3 separate regions of the Homo sapiens genome follow, and regions 1 and 3 are each linked to region 2. Evidence: promoter capture Hi-C in 16 types of primary human blood cells and fetal thymus (Javierre and others, 2016). All regions are on one chromosome and are shown on one strand. Each heading gives the region's core, a stretch centred on a gene start or on the middle of the fragment in contact. The rest is flanking DNA. Distances are from core to core; before and after follow the strand shown. Region 1 holds the start of ZNF689 (zinc finger protein 689). Region 2 holds the start of PPP4C (protein phosphatase 4 catalytic subunit). Region 3 holds the start of RNF40 (ring finger protein 40).

Evidence for each region. The method cuts DNA at HindIII sites, captures the fragments that hold promoters and counts their contacts. A CHiCAGO score of 5 or more calls a contact.
Region 1: a contact is called between the fragment with the promoter of ZNF689 here and the fragment with the promoter of PPP4C in region 2, in 1 of 17 cell types (naive CD8 T cells). The highest score is 6.2, in naive CD8 T cells.
Region 3: a contact is called between the fragment with the promoter of RNF40 here and the fragment with the promoter of PPP4C in region 2, in 1 of 17 cell types (naive CD8 T cells). The highest score is 5.3, in naive CD8 T cells.

What each region holds. Positions count from the first base shown.
Region 1 is chr16:30,607,638-30,611,668 of GRCh38, forward strand. ZNF689 (zinc finger protein 689) reads right to left here and starts at 2,752. Exons shown (of 3, transcript NM_138447.3): 1 at 2,200-2,752; 2 at 1,888-2,001. The coding sequence starts at 2,404. It overlaps LOC124903678 (a long non-coding RNA gene), which reads left to right and starts at 2,837. Exons shown (of 2, transcript XR_007065051.1): 1 at 2,837-3,126. RefSeq lists a silencer at 2,442-2,491 and an enhancer at 2,779-3,748. The HindIII fragment of the contact is 6,999 bases long and covers 1-4,031 here.
Region 2 is chr16:30,072,878-30,077,250 of GRCh38, forward strand. PPP4C (protein phosphatase 4 catalytic subunit) reads left to right here and starts at 3,117. Exons shown (of 9, transcript NM_002720.3): 1 at 3,117-3,217; 2 at 3,438-3,598. The coding sequence starts at 3,501. RefSeq lists enhancers at 1,839-2,018, 3,641-3,730 and a silencer at 3,391-3,530. The HindIII fragment of the contact is 10,067 bases long and covers 1-3,698 here.
Region 3 is chr16:30,760,056-30,764,211 of GRCh38, forward strand. RNF40 (ring finger protein 40) reads left to right here and starts at 2,267. Exons shown (of 20, transcript NM_014771.4): 1 at 2,267-2,305; 2 at 2,420-2,622; 3 at 3,063-3,230; 4 at 3,363-3,504; 5 at 4,124-4,156. The coding sequence starts at 2,491. PHKG2 (phosphorylase kinase catalytic subunit gamma 2) reads left to right here. Exons shown (of 10, transcript NM_000294.3): 10 at 1-1,121. It overlaps CFAP119 (cilia and flagella associated protein 119), which reads right to left and starts at 2,007. Exons shown (of 9, transcript NM_001014979.3): 1 at 1,490-2,007; 2 at 1,143-1,174; 3 at 551-613; 4 at 229-398. The coding sequence starts at 1,693. RefSeq lists enhancers at 1-1,131, 1,096-1,245, 1,836-2,015, 1,971-2,608, 2,096-2,355 and 2 more and a silencer at 1,330-1,559. The HindIII fragment of the contact is 4,015 bases long and covers 1-3,904 here.

The DNA.
Region 1 (4,031 bases), core at 1,502-4,001, 530 kb after region 2:
TGTGCACAGGCCCTAAGATCTTCTTAGACACAAAGTGTAAAAGCAAGACAGGCTGGGCGCGGTGGCTTACACCTGCAATCCCAGCACTTTGGAAGGCCAAGGCAGGCGGATCACCTGAGGTCAGGAGTTCGAGACCAGCTTGACCAATATGGAGAAACCCTGTCTCTACTAAAAATTAGCCGGGTGTGATCGTGGGCACCTGTAGTCCCACCTACTCCAGAGGCTGAGACAGGAGAATTGCTTGAAACCGGGAGCAAGAGGTTACAGTGAGCTGAGATCGTGCCACTGCACTCCTGCCTGGGCAACAGAGCAAGACTCCGTCTCACACACACACAAAAGAGTGTAAGGCAAGATATGGAAACCTATGAGGTATGAGCTAGCAGTGACTGGGTCAAAAGGCCCTCTAAGCCAATGGTTCTCAAACTCCACTGTGATCAGAATCATTGGGAGGATTTACTGAAACAGAATGCCAGGCCCTAGTGCCCGCTTTGGATTCAGCAGGTCTGGGGTAGGGTCCAAGAATGTGCATTTCTAACAAGTTTCCAAATAATGCTGCTTCTGGTCTGAGACCACGCTTTGAGAACCACTGCTGTTAGCATTGTTAAAGACCTTGGACTGTATTTTACCCAATGGTTTTCTTTTCTTTTTTTTTTTCCCCCAAGATGGAGTCTCACTGTGGCACCCAGGCTGGAGTACACTGGCATGATCTCGGCTCACTGTAACTTCCACCTCCCAGGATCAAGCAATTCTCCCTGCCTCAGCCTCCTGAGTAGCTGGAATTACAGGCGCCCACCATAGTGCCCGGCTAATTTTTGTATTTTTTTAGTAGAGACGGGGTTTCACGATGTTGGTCAGGCTGGTCTTGAACTCCGGACCTCAAGTGATCTACCCACCTCGGCCTCCCAAAGTGCTGGGATTACAGGCATGAGCCACCAGCCGGCCGGTTTTCAAACCTAGATGCACATCTGAATCAGCTGAGGCTATTTAAAAAATGGAAGTTCCTAAACATTCACACGAGTGAATGAATAGCTCTGGGATGGGGTCCTGGAACCTGCGTTTTTACCAAGTTCCCCAAGTGATTTAGATATAACCAATGGCCATTTAACAACCTTGGCAAAAATTAACTGAAAAGTTTTAAGCAAGGAAATATCATGGTCAGATCTGAATCTTGGACAGCTATCCCTGGTCTTGAAGAATCTGGCTCTGAAATTCCAGCCCAGACAGCTCCATCTTCTACTATGGGTGGATCTGGGACCCTTCTACCTGAATGGGGTTAAGCAGAGCCTTGTTGGATTCTGAGGAGATTGCAGTATGTCCTTCGCTGATAAGGGTCATCCTGCCGTAAGAGCAGAAAGAGGCCCCTGCATCCCAGGCAGCTGTTCCCCATGAGCTCCCTTCAACCAAAACCCAGAAAACTCTGAGAAGTTTAGGATCTCTTTGGTCCAACTCAAAGGTGGCTAGAGGCAGAGATCCTGGAAAGGAGGCAGAGGGTAGCACCTGTTAAAAGCTCACTGATTCTGGCTGGCTGCAATGGCTCACGCCAGTAACCCCTGCATTTTGGGAGGCCAAGGCAGGAGGATCGCTTGAGGCCAGAAGTTCAAGACCGAACTGAGCAAGACAATGTTTCTACAAAAAAAAAAAAAAAAAAAAAAGACGAAGAATAAGCCCACTGATTCATTCACACAGTGGAAAACTGCAGCTTGCAGACTGACATAGGAATCTCTGTGTGGTGGACCGGCCCCACACCACCAGACACAAGAGGCTGGGAAGATGAATATACTAAATACGCGGCACCCACCCCTAGCCCAACCAAAACTCTGGACAGAGCCGTTAGAGGTAGAACGTTATAGGAGGGCTGCAGGCTCTGCGTGGTTATTTAGCACTCACTTCTCTGGACTGTTAGCCCTCTCGGGTACTCCTGCGGATCTAGAGCAGCCGGTTCCCAGTCATCGGTGTTTCGTTCCAACCAGGAGATGAGGGCTGGTTTGGGACCTGCGCACCCTGGGGAAAGAGAACAAATCAGAAGGCCAGCTCCTAGATCACGCCGAGTAGTATCTCCCCGACGGCACCTCCTGCTAAGCCCCTGCCCACCTCCCCTGACAACCTGGTCGCCTGCCAGGACCGTGGCCTCCCTGCCTACACCCTCTCCGGCTCCTGCATCCCTTCGCGCCCCGCGGCAGCGGATGGGGCCGGCCTCACCGAGCGCGCCCAGGTGACCGTAGGTCTCCCGCATCACGTCCCGGTACAGGGCCCTCTGCGCGGGCCGCAGGCAGCCCCACTCCTCCGGGGAGAAGTACACGGCCACGTCCACGAACTTCAGAGCCCTCGGCCTCCTGCCCCTTTTCCGACTGGGTCTGGCCTTTCCTGGTCCCTGCGCAGGGAGCGGAGCCGAAGGTGGCGCCATGGGACCCGAGAAGCCGGCGCCACGGCCTTCCGTGTCCAGGCCTCGGCCCTCGGGCGCTGGCGGCCCCTGGGATCGAGGAGCCCCTGCCGGACCAGGGCTGAGCGTGGCCGGGGAGGCCCGGAGGGAATCGGAATTGGTCGCCCGCGGGGCTAACGGAAACCTTTTGCTGTTATTCAGGAAACTCCTGCCCGAACTTGGGTGAAAGGCACCGGAAGATGCCTTCGGGGAAAATGGCGGCGCTGCTACCGCACCGCCTTTGCCTGGAACACAGGCAGCTTCCAGCTATCGATTTTATTGACCGGAGCGCCATGCCGGCTTCCTAACCTCTTTGCCCTCAAGTGTAATGGCGCTGCGATTGGGCTTCACGCCGTCTTTTTTCCCCTCCCCAATACGCGCGTTCATTGGACGAGAGCCGAAGATCGAGCGTTCTGATTGGGTGCTAGCAAAGGCGGTCCGTTTGAACGAAGCCAAGAGCTGCATAAGGGCAGGAAGCTGGACTGCTAGGATCAGGCGACTACAAGGAGTTGTGAAGCGACTTGCACCGACCTGGGGGCAGCAAGAGGCCCCGGGGCTGCTTTCCGCTGTTCGACTCTGGCAGGCTCAGCCAATCACTGAAGGAGGGAACGATTTGAGCGATGGAGCCACTCTGGCCGAGTTAGAGCTGAGATTATCCTGAGTTCCTTTTACTGGTGTTCTCAGAGCATCCTTGACTTTGGAGAATGGTTATCTTCTTTGTTTGCCCTTTAGGGGAGGGAATTATGGTTAGCATTTCCTGGGGGCAGGCGCCATGCCCAGCATATTACATATTTCATCTTTATTATTTTTTATTTTTATTTTATTTATTTATTTTTGAGACAGAGTCGTGCTCTGTCGCCCAGGCTGGAGTGCAGTGGCGAAATCTCGGCTCACTGCAGCTTCCACCTCCCACGTTCAAGCGATTCTCCTGCCTCAGCCTCCCGAGTAAGTGAGATTACAGGCGCGTGCCACCACTCCTGACTAATATTCATATTTATTAGCAGAGATGGGGTTTCACCATGTTAGCCAGGCTGGTCTCGAACTTCTGACCTCAAGTGATTCACCCACCTCGGCCCCACGAAGTGCTAGGATTACAGGCGTGAGCCACTATGCCCGGCCTTATTTTTATTTTTTTGAGACAGGGTCTCACTCTGTTACCCGGGCGGGATGGAATGCAGTAGTGCAATCTCAGCTCACTGCAGCCTCTAACTCCTGGGCTCAAGCAATCGTCCTGCCTCAGCCTTCAGAGTAACTGGGACTACTGGTGTGCACTACCACGCCTGGCTAATTTTTTATGTTATTTGTTGAGTCAGGGTTTCCCTGTGTTGCCCAGGCTGGTCTCGAACCCTTAGGCTAAGTGATCCTCCTGCCTCGTCCTCCCAAAGGGCTGGGATTACTGGCATAAGCCACAGCACCGGAGCCATTAGTTATTCGCTTTTTTTTTTTGAGACTGGGTCTCATTCCGTTGCCCAGGCTGGAGTGAAGGCATGCACCCACAGTGCTCTGCTAATTTTTTGTATTTTTGGTAGAGACGGTGTTTCGCCATGTTTCCCAGGCTGGTCTCGAACTCCTGAGCTCAAGCAATCCGCCCACCTCGGTCTCCCAAAGTGCT
Region 2 (4,373 bases), core at 1,867-4,366:
GCCTCCCGGGTTCAAACCGATTATCCTGCCTCAGCCTCTCCAGAGTAGCTGGGATTACAGGTGCACGCTACTGCACCCGGCTAATTTTTTGTATTTTTAGTAGAGACGGGGTTTCACCATGTTGGCCAGGCTGGTCTTGAACCCCCAATCTCAGGTAATCCGCCTGCCTTGGCCTCCCAAAGTGCTAAGATTACAGGCGTGAGCCACCATGCCTGGCCTGGACCTCTTAATTTTATGATAATCTGAGTTCCCGAAAGAGTAATTGATAGAAAAAAAAACTACACCTGAGGACACAACTTTCTGAGTTCAAATTTCTTTTTTTTTGAGACAGCATTTCACTCTGTTGTCCAAGCTGGAGTGCGGTGTCACAATTTCGGCTCACTGCAACCCCCGCCTCCTGGGTTCAAGCGATTCTCCTGCCTCAGCCTCCCAGGTAGCTGGGACTACAAGCGCATCACCAAACCTAATTATTATTATTTTTTATTTTTTAGGATAGACAGGGTTTCACCATGTTGGTCAGGCTGATCTTGAATTCCTGACCTCAGGTGATCCACCTGCCTCGGCTGCCCAAAGTGCTGGGATTACAGGTGTGAGCCACCACACACAGCCAGGTTCAAATTTCTTTCTTTTTTTTTTTTGAGACAGAGTCTCGCTCTGTTGCCCAGGCTGGAGTCCAGTGACGCAATCTTGGCTCGCTGCACGCTCTGCCTCCTGGGTTCACGCCATTCTCCTGCCTCAGCCTCCCAAGTAGCTGGGACTACAGGCGCCCGCCACCACGCCCAGCTATTTTTTTGTATTTTTAGTAGAGACGGGGTTTCACTATGTTAGCCAGGATGGTCTCGATCTCCTGATCTCGTGATCCGCCCGCCTCAGCCTCCCAAAGTGCTGGGATTACAGGCGTCAGCCACCGCGCCCAGCCCAAGTTTCTTATTCTTTTTGTTTATAGACTGGGTCTCACTCTGTTGCCCAGCCTGGTCTTGAACTCCTGGGCTTAAGTGATTCGCCTCGGCCTCCCAAAGTGCTGGGATTACATGCTTGAGCCACCACACCTAGCCCCGGATTCAAATTTCAGTGTAACATCCCCAATCCACTGTTATACAAGCAATGAACAAGTTATTTAACCCCTCTGAGCCAGTTTCCTCCTCTTAAAAAAGGCACAAAACTTAATAGAAAGCAACTAAGAAGCCAGGCACGGTGGCTCAAGCTGGTAATCCCAGCACTTTCCGAGGCCGAGGAGAGTGGATCACCTGAGGTCAGGAGTTCGAGACCAGCCTGACCAAAATGGTGAAACCCCGTCTCTATTAAAAATGCAAAAATTAGCTGGGCGTGGTGACGGGTGCTTGTAATCCCAGCTACTCAGGTGGCTGAGGCAGGAGAATTGCTTGAACCCAGGAGGCGGAGGTTGCGGTTTGCCAAAATCGCTCCACTGCACTCCCGCCTGGGCGACAAGAGCAAGGAAGGCTCTGTCTTAAAAAAATAAATAAATGAAAATACAAAAATTAGCCAGGCGTCGTGGCACATGCCTGTAATCCCAGCTACTTGGGAGGCTGAGGCAGGAGAATCGCTTGAACCTGGGAGGCGGAGGTTGCAGTGAGCCGAGATTGTGCCACTGCACTCCAGTCGGGGTGAAAAAGCAAGACTCCGTCTCAAAAAAAAAAAAAAAAAAAAAAAAAGAGGCCGGGCACGGTGGTACACGCCTGTGGTACAGCACTTTGGGAGGCTGAGGCAGGTGGATCATGAGGTCAGGAGATCGAGACCATCCTGGCTAACACGGTGAAACCCCGTCTCCACTAAAAAATACAAAAAAATTAGCCGGGCCTGGTGGCGGGCGCCTGTAGTCCCAGCTATTCAGGAGGCAGAGGCAAGAGAATGGCGTGAACCCGGGAGGCGGAGCTTGCAGTGAGCCGAGATGGCGCCACTGGACTGCAGCCTGGGCGACAGAGCGAGAGAGTGAGACTCTGTCTCAAAAAGAAAAACGGAAGCAACTAAGAAATGTCAAGAGTGCCATTTTGGAATCAGAGAAGTCATGCTGACTGAGGCACAGGCTTGGCGTGGGAAAAGTGGACTCCAATCTGTTAACTTCTGAAGTTGTCCACGGCAAATATTTCTCTGACGGCACAGGAAGAGATCTGAACTTGGCTTCCCTCATCCATTGAACAAGTATTAACAAGTATCTATATATGCCTACCGTGCCAGGCCTTATTCTAACCACTGGGGCTGCAATATTTAAAAAGACAAAGTTGGATCCTCCAAGGACTGTGGTGGGGAAGGCTGACAAAACAAGTAACAAAAATGTGTAACATTAAAAAAAAAGTGTAATGTTAAAAAAAAAAAGTGTAATAAAGTTACAAAGCCTAGCCCCAGCTCGGCTTGTTTCCCTAGCTGAAATGGGGGATGGCCGGGCGCGGTGGCTCACGCCTGTAATCCCAGCACTTTGGGAGGCCCGAGGCGGGAAGATAGCTTGTGCCCAGGAGTTCGAGGTCACAGTGACCTATGATAGCCCCACCGACTCCAGCCTGAGCGATAGAGCGAGACCCTGTCTCTAATTTAGAAAAAAGAAAGTTGTGGCCGGGCGCGGTGGCTCACGCCTGTAATCCCAGCACTTTGGGAGGCCGAAGGGTGGTGGTGGGTGGGGGCGCGGATCACCTGAGGTAGGGAGTTAGAGACCAGCCTGACCAACATGGAGAAACCCCGTCTCTATTAAAAATACAAAATTAGCCCAGCGTGGTAGCGCATGCCTGTAATCCCAGCTACTCAGGAGGCTGAGGCAGGAGAATTGCTGGAACCCGGGAGGCGGAAGTTGCGGTGAGCCGAGTTCGTGCCATTGCACCCCGGCCTGGGCAACAGCAAAACTCCGTCTCAAAAAAAGAAAAGACAGTTGTTTAAACATTTTTATGAAATGATATGGGAGGGGACTGGTCTAGGGTTTCTAATAGCCTCCACATCGCCCAGCGGCAGAGCCCACAAAACTGCCACTGGCCGCCACCGGGTTCCTCCACCTCCTTCCCGATCTCAGGCTGGAGAAGTGGTGCAGGGGTCGCTGCGAAAGGAGAGGAGCGTGTATGACGCCACATCCGGCGCGCGGCGGAACTGGCCTCCTTTGCTTCCGCGGCGGGGCCGGAAGTAGGAGCGGCGGCGGCGGCGGCGGCGGCGGTCGAAAGCGGAGTGAAAGAGGGAGGCAGGGAGCCGGAGAGCCGGAACCGGAGTCGCAGCGGCGGTAATAGTGCGAGACTCCTCTAAGTCACCGTCCTTAGCGCGGGACCGCGGGGTTCGACGGGAGTTAGCGGGGGTGCGGCCAGGCCGTTGGACGCCGGGGGGTCCTGGGGCCGATGTGAGGGGAGGCGGGGGTGGGGGAGCCGGGCCGGCTCTAGAATCGAGTTGTCCGCTCCGAGCCCCGGACGGACACTGATCCGCGGGCTCGTCTTGGCCTTTCCCAGGAGACCCCTGTGCGGTGCGGAGGGGGCGGCGGCCCCGACTCTGACCCGCGCCGGGGGTGGGCCATGGCGGAGATCAGCGACCTGGACCGGCAGATCGAGCAGCTGCGTCGCTGCGAGCTCATCAAGGAGAGCGAAGTCAAGGCCCTGTGCGCTAAGGCCAGGTGAGCTCGTTGGCCCTGGGGAAGGGAGGCCAAGCCGCCGCCCACGGGTTCTGGCCTGGGGCAAACCCAACTGAGAACTTTGGGCTTGCCTCGTTCTGGAAGCTTTCCCAGAGAGGAGCAGGATGGAGCCGCTGCCCTCGAGGAAAAGCTAGCCTGCTCGGGGAAGACAGAGTGGATAAAGACACTTAAAGTTTATTAGACGATGTGTTTCCAGTGGAGTAAGAGTGTTACATAAAGTACTTAGGAAACTCAAGGAAACAAGTCCATCTGTCGGGGGACGGAAGCTTGTTGGAGGGGGGCCGAACTGTGGGAGAGGCCTCGAATAAGGAGGTGGTAAAAGAGTCAGCCAAAAACCAAAAGTTTAAGACAGGAAAGTTAAAGACCCTGTGATTTATAAAAGTCTTCTAATTACAACAACCCTTAAAGATTGGTGGTATTGTACTCATTTTACAGGTGGGAACTTTCATGTTCAAAGTTACCCACAAGTAAGGAATGGGGTCTGAAGCCAGCTCTTAGTGTCCTGTCCTTTTTCAGGCCATAATGCAAAAAGGTGGAGTTGGATCATTCACGTTCAGGGTGGGAGCCTGAGAAATCGTAGCAAGTAAGCCAGGGTAGAATTAAGCACGATAGGGAGGCCAGTTCAGAGTTCTGTGGGAAGTAGGATGATGTAGTGGTTAAGGCTCTAGGTTTTGCAGTGTGAGATGGCTCTAGGTTTGAATCTGAACTCTGCCGCTTTCTAGCTGTGTTAGTAATCTTAAGTGTCTTTATTTGTAAA
Region 3 (4,156 bases), core at 1,017-3,516, 690 kb after region 2:
TATTTGCATATATTATTTCTCAGAACAGTCCTGTAAAATGTGTGCTGTATCCTTAATTTCTAGATAAGGAAGCAGTGGATTGGAAAGCTGATGGCTTGTGTATGATGATGCTACTAATAATGACATATTCCAGGCAGAAATCCCCTGCTTCTGCTTCCCATGGTCACTTGTGCCAGGCCCGGTTCCTCTTCTCCCTGGGGCTCAAACCTGGTAGCTGCCCCCTCTCACCAATACAAGCCTTGTGAAGATCCTGGAGCAGGGCACAAGCCGCTGACGTCTGCTCCAGTGAGAAGCCCTGCTGGCGGCAGAAAATGAGCGCGTGGCAGAAGAGGTCCAGGGTGATGGCGTCCCTCAGGCTCTGCTCAGGACACCCTAGCTCCAGCAGCTCAGCCAGCACCCTTGGGAGGGAGAGAGGAGTGAGTGACAACTGGGCCTCCTTTCATCACCCTACACCCACCACATGCTTTGGAGTCAGCCATTCCTCATGTTTTCCCAACCTGACCCCTCAGCCTTTGCCAAGAGCTCTTCCCACGCCCCCCTCAGTCCCTACTCCCTCATCTCAGCATTGGTGGTCTTCTCCAGCTGGTGCATGGAATGGACGTCCAGGTACTTCCTGTTATAGTAAAAGAAAAAGAGTATTGGTGGCCGTTACCTATCATGACAAGGCTGTGACAGCTAGTGCGTGAGACTGGGAGTTGGCCACCGGCGTGAAGCTGGGCTCTTTTGCCAGCTTGCTGTGTGACTATGCAAATCGTTAACTCTCTGGGCCTAAATGAACTCTTATGAGCCTCTCCATTTCTAAAGCCTAGGGTTAGGAATCTTGAATTCTTTTTTCTGCTCTGCCACTACCTTGTATGACCTTGGTCAAGTACTCCCTGTGGCCCTCAGTGTCCCCCTCTGTACAATACTCCTTAGCGGCCATGAGACTCCATTTACATTCTGTCTTTGGCTCTTTTTTTCTCACACTGCCTCCTCTTTGGACTGGAGAGGCTGGAAAGCCAACTTCCAGTCACCTGGAGTAATTGCATCTCCAGGCCTCAGTCTCATCTGTAAAATGGGGATGCCCTGGCCACAGACAGGACTGTTGGGGAGACAATAAAGAACGCAAATATTCAGTGTAATTTTTGTCTCTTCACACTCACCACATGCAGATCCGGGGTCGGGGCAGCGGCGGCTGCGGAAAGAAAGCGAATTGGGGAAGGCAGCTGCGGTGTCCTGGCCCGTAGCGAATCTCCAGCAGGCCGGAGAAGCCGCTGTAACTTGCCATCTCATCTCAAGGACTAAGGAGAGGCGCGGGCGAGGGAGGGCTTCAGCAGGCCCTAGGTGCTCTACGCGAGCACAGTAACCACCGGGGTCACACACCCCTGCCTCTCCTCGCCCAAGCAGCCCGGGAGACGTCCCGAACGTTAGTAAGCATAATGACAGGTGGCGCCTGCGGGGGAGCCGGTTTATAAATATTCACGAGCAGACCAGACTGTCCCGCCCTCACCGGAAACAAGTTGGCTCCGGGGTCTTCATCCGCTTTCGCCGCCGCCGCCGTCGTCCACTGAGTCCGCACACTCGCACGCGTCCGCGCGGCCGACCCATGCACTGAGCTGCGATCCTTCCCCGCTTCCCGCCGCAGCTCGGAGAGATGTTCAAGCTCCGACTGCACCCTCATTCCCAAAAAGTGGCTGGTCTTGCGGTTGAGCATCTCGCCGCTCTTCCGTGCCGCGAGGCGCCCCGGGCTCCCGCCGCCTAGGTTCCAGGACAGCCAGCGCTCGGTCGGCGGCTACCAAGGCCGGGCCCGTTCGCCTCGCTCCGGCCAATCTACGCGCGGAGAGGCGCGGCGGGGCGAATCCGTGGGGGCGTCTCCCTCCGTCTCAACGGCGACGGTTGCCAAGGGGGCTTGTGAGGGAAGGAAGGCGGAAAGCGCAGGCTCACGCCAGTGGGAGCGAAGAGAACGCGCAGATACGTGAGAAGTTGCGAGTGCCCACCTGGGCGCCCTCTCTTCCAGGTTGCTAATACGAGGGCCGGTGCTGTCCTCCAGGCTGGGAAGTGGGAGCGCGGTGTCAGTTACTATGGGAACTGCCTCTTGGCCAATCACCGAGAGAAAGAGGAGGTGTTTGGGAAGAAGCCAGAGGACCCGAGTGGCGGGACCAAGCGTAACCAATAGAAGCAGAAGATAAAGAAGTTTCCTCACATCCGGGGCTGCCTTTGGCGCCTGCGCCCTGCGCACCGTTGGGGGGGGGGCAGTGGCGTCCAGTGACGCCCAGTGACGTCCGGTGAAATCCAAGATGGCGGCGCTAGGCTGACCCTCCTGCTGGTGAGGGCTCTGGCGCCGGGGGGGACGGGATCCAGCAGGTGTGTGCAGGGTGGAGGGTGTTTGGGGCTGTGGAACACCAGCCGTTCCCACATCTCTGCTCTGTGTCTTCTGCAGGTGACGGAAGTACCGCCTCCTCCCGTTTGACGCCCCTCAGGGGACCCTGCATCGCTCCAGCCGCCGCGGCCATGTCTGGGCCAGGCAACAAACGCGCCGCCGGCGACGGGGGCTCAGGGCCCCCGGAAAAGAAGCTGAGTCGTGAGGAGAAGACCACCACGACTCTTATCGAGCCCATTCGTCTTGGAGGCATCTCTTCCACGGTTCGTGGGCTCTTGCCTTAACCCTCAGAACTTCCCAGAGCCCTCCCTCTGTTCTCTGGCCAAACTGTGCGGAATCTTACACCCACTTCCCCAAGTTTAGCAAGGTCCGCGTTACAGGACCTTGAAAGAAAGGTTAGAAAGAAGCTCAGAACACGACGCCTGTCTTCCCTTTACAGATAGGAAAACAGGTTTCCAGGGGGCGTGTGACTTGTCAAAGACTAAGGATTTACAAGGGGACAGGCAGAAACAACGTGAGCCTCCTCACAACAAAGACACTTTCGCTGTGTGTTGTCTGAGCCTCCTTAGATTCTGTTAGCGGTTAGTGTGGGAATACCTCCATCTCCCATGCATTGCAGATGCTCTGCTCCTCTTTCTCTCTCTGTGATTGGTTTGTGGGCCCTGCTTGACGCTCTCGTCGGCCCCTTTGTTTCCTTTGGTAGGAGGAGATGGACCTGAAGGTACTACAGTTCAAGAACAAGAAACTGGCAGAGCGGCTGGAACAACGGCAGGCTTGTGAAGATGAACTCCGAGAACGAATTGAGAAGTTGGAGAAGCGGCAGGCCACAGATGATGCCACACTCCTCATCGTCAATCGCTACTGGGCCCAGGTGGATACCTTCTGCTTTCAAAGACCAGGCCTTGATTCAGCTGCCAATCCCCAGATTCCCCTGCTAGGAAAGGAGTATCATGTTGGAAAGCACTAAGGGATTCATAACATTTTTGATGTTTTCTCCTTCCAGCTGGATGAAACTGTGGAAGCCCTTCTCCGATGCCATGAGAGCCAGGGGGAGCTGTCTTCAGCGCCTGAGGCACCTGGGACCCAGGAGGGGCCAACATGTGATGGGACTCCTCTCCCAGAGCCGGGGACATCAGAGCTGAGAGGTAGGACCAGAGTGCTGGGATCTGGGGAGCTTAAGTTCTGGGAGAAGTCCTGGGGAGGAGGGGACTTTGGTGTTGGGCCCCTGAATTGCCTATCTTACTACTTCTCACGAAATGGATTTCATGTTTGGGCAGTAAAGTGCAGTGCACAAAAACACAGGCTTTAGACTCTGACTAACTTGGTTTATAGAGCAATTCATGTTTTGACACCCATTTGTTTCAAAACAGTATTATGGTTGAGTATTAAATATGTATTTGACGCTTCCTAGAAATGAGTGTTGCACTTGCTATAAGGGAGGAAATTATAAACATAGTAAGCAGAAAGTACTGGGGCTCCTGAAACGGAATGATTGTGTGTGCATGCATGTGCGTGTGATTCTAATTATATTGGTAAAGTACAGGAAGCTTCCCTGAGGATGTGATACGCAACTCTGTAGCTTTGAGGAAATTACTTTACCTCCCTGAATTTCATTTGTCTCACTTTCAGGATGGAGATAATAGTGCACTATAGGTTGTGTTGATTAAGTGAACCATGAGTATTGAAGGGCTCAGTCTGGAACTTGGTACAGAGTGGTAGTAACTGCTGCTCTTATCCTCATGAGGGTCTGTCCATTCCTTCCAGACCCCTTGCTGATGCAGCTGCGGCCCCCTCTCA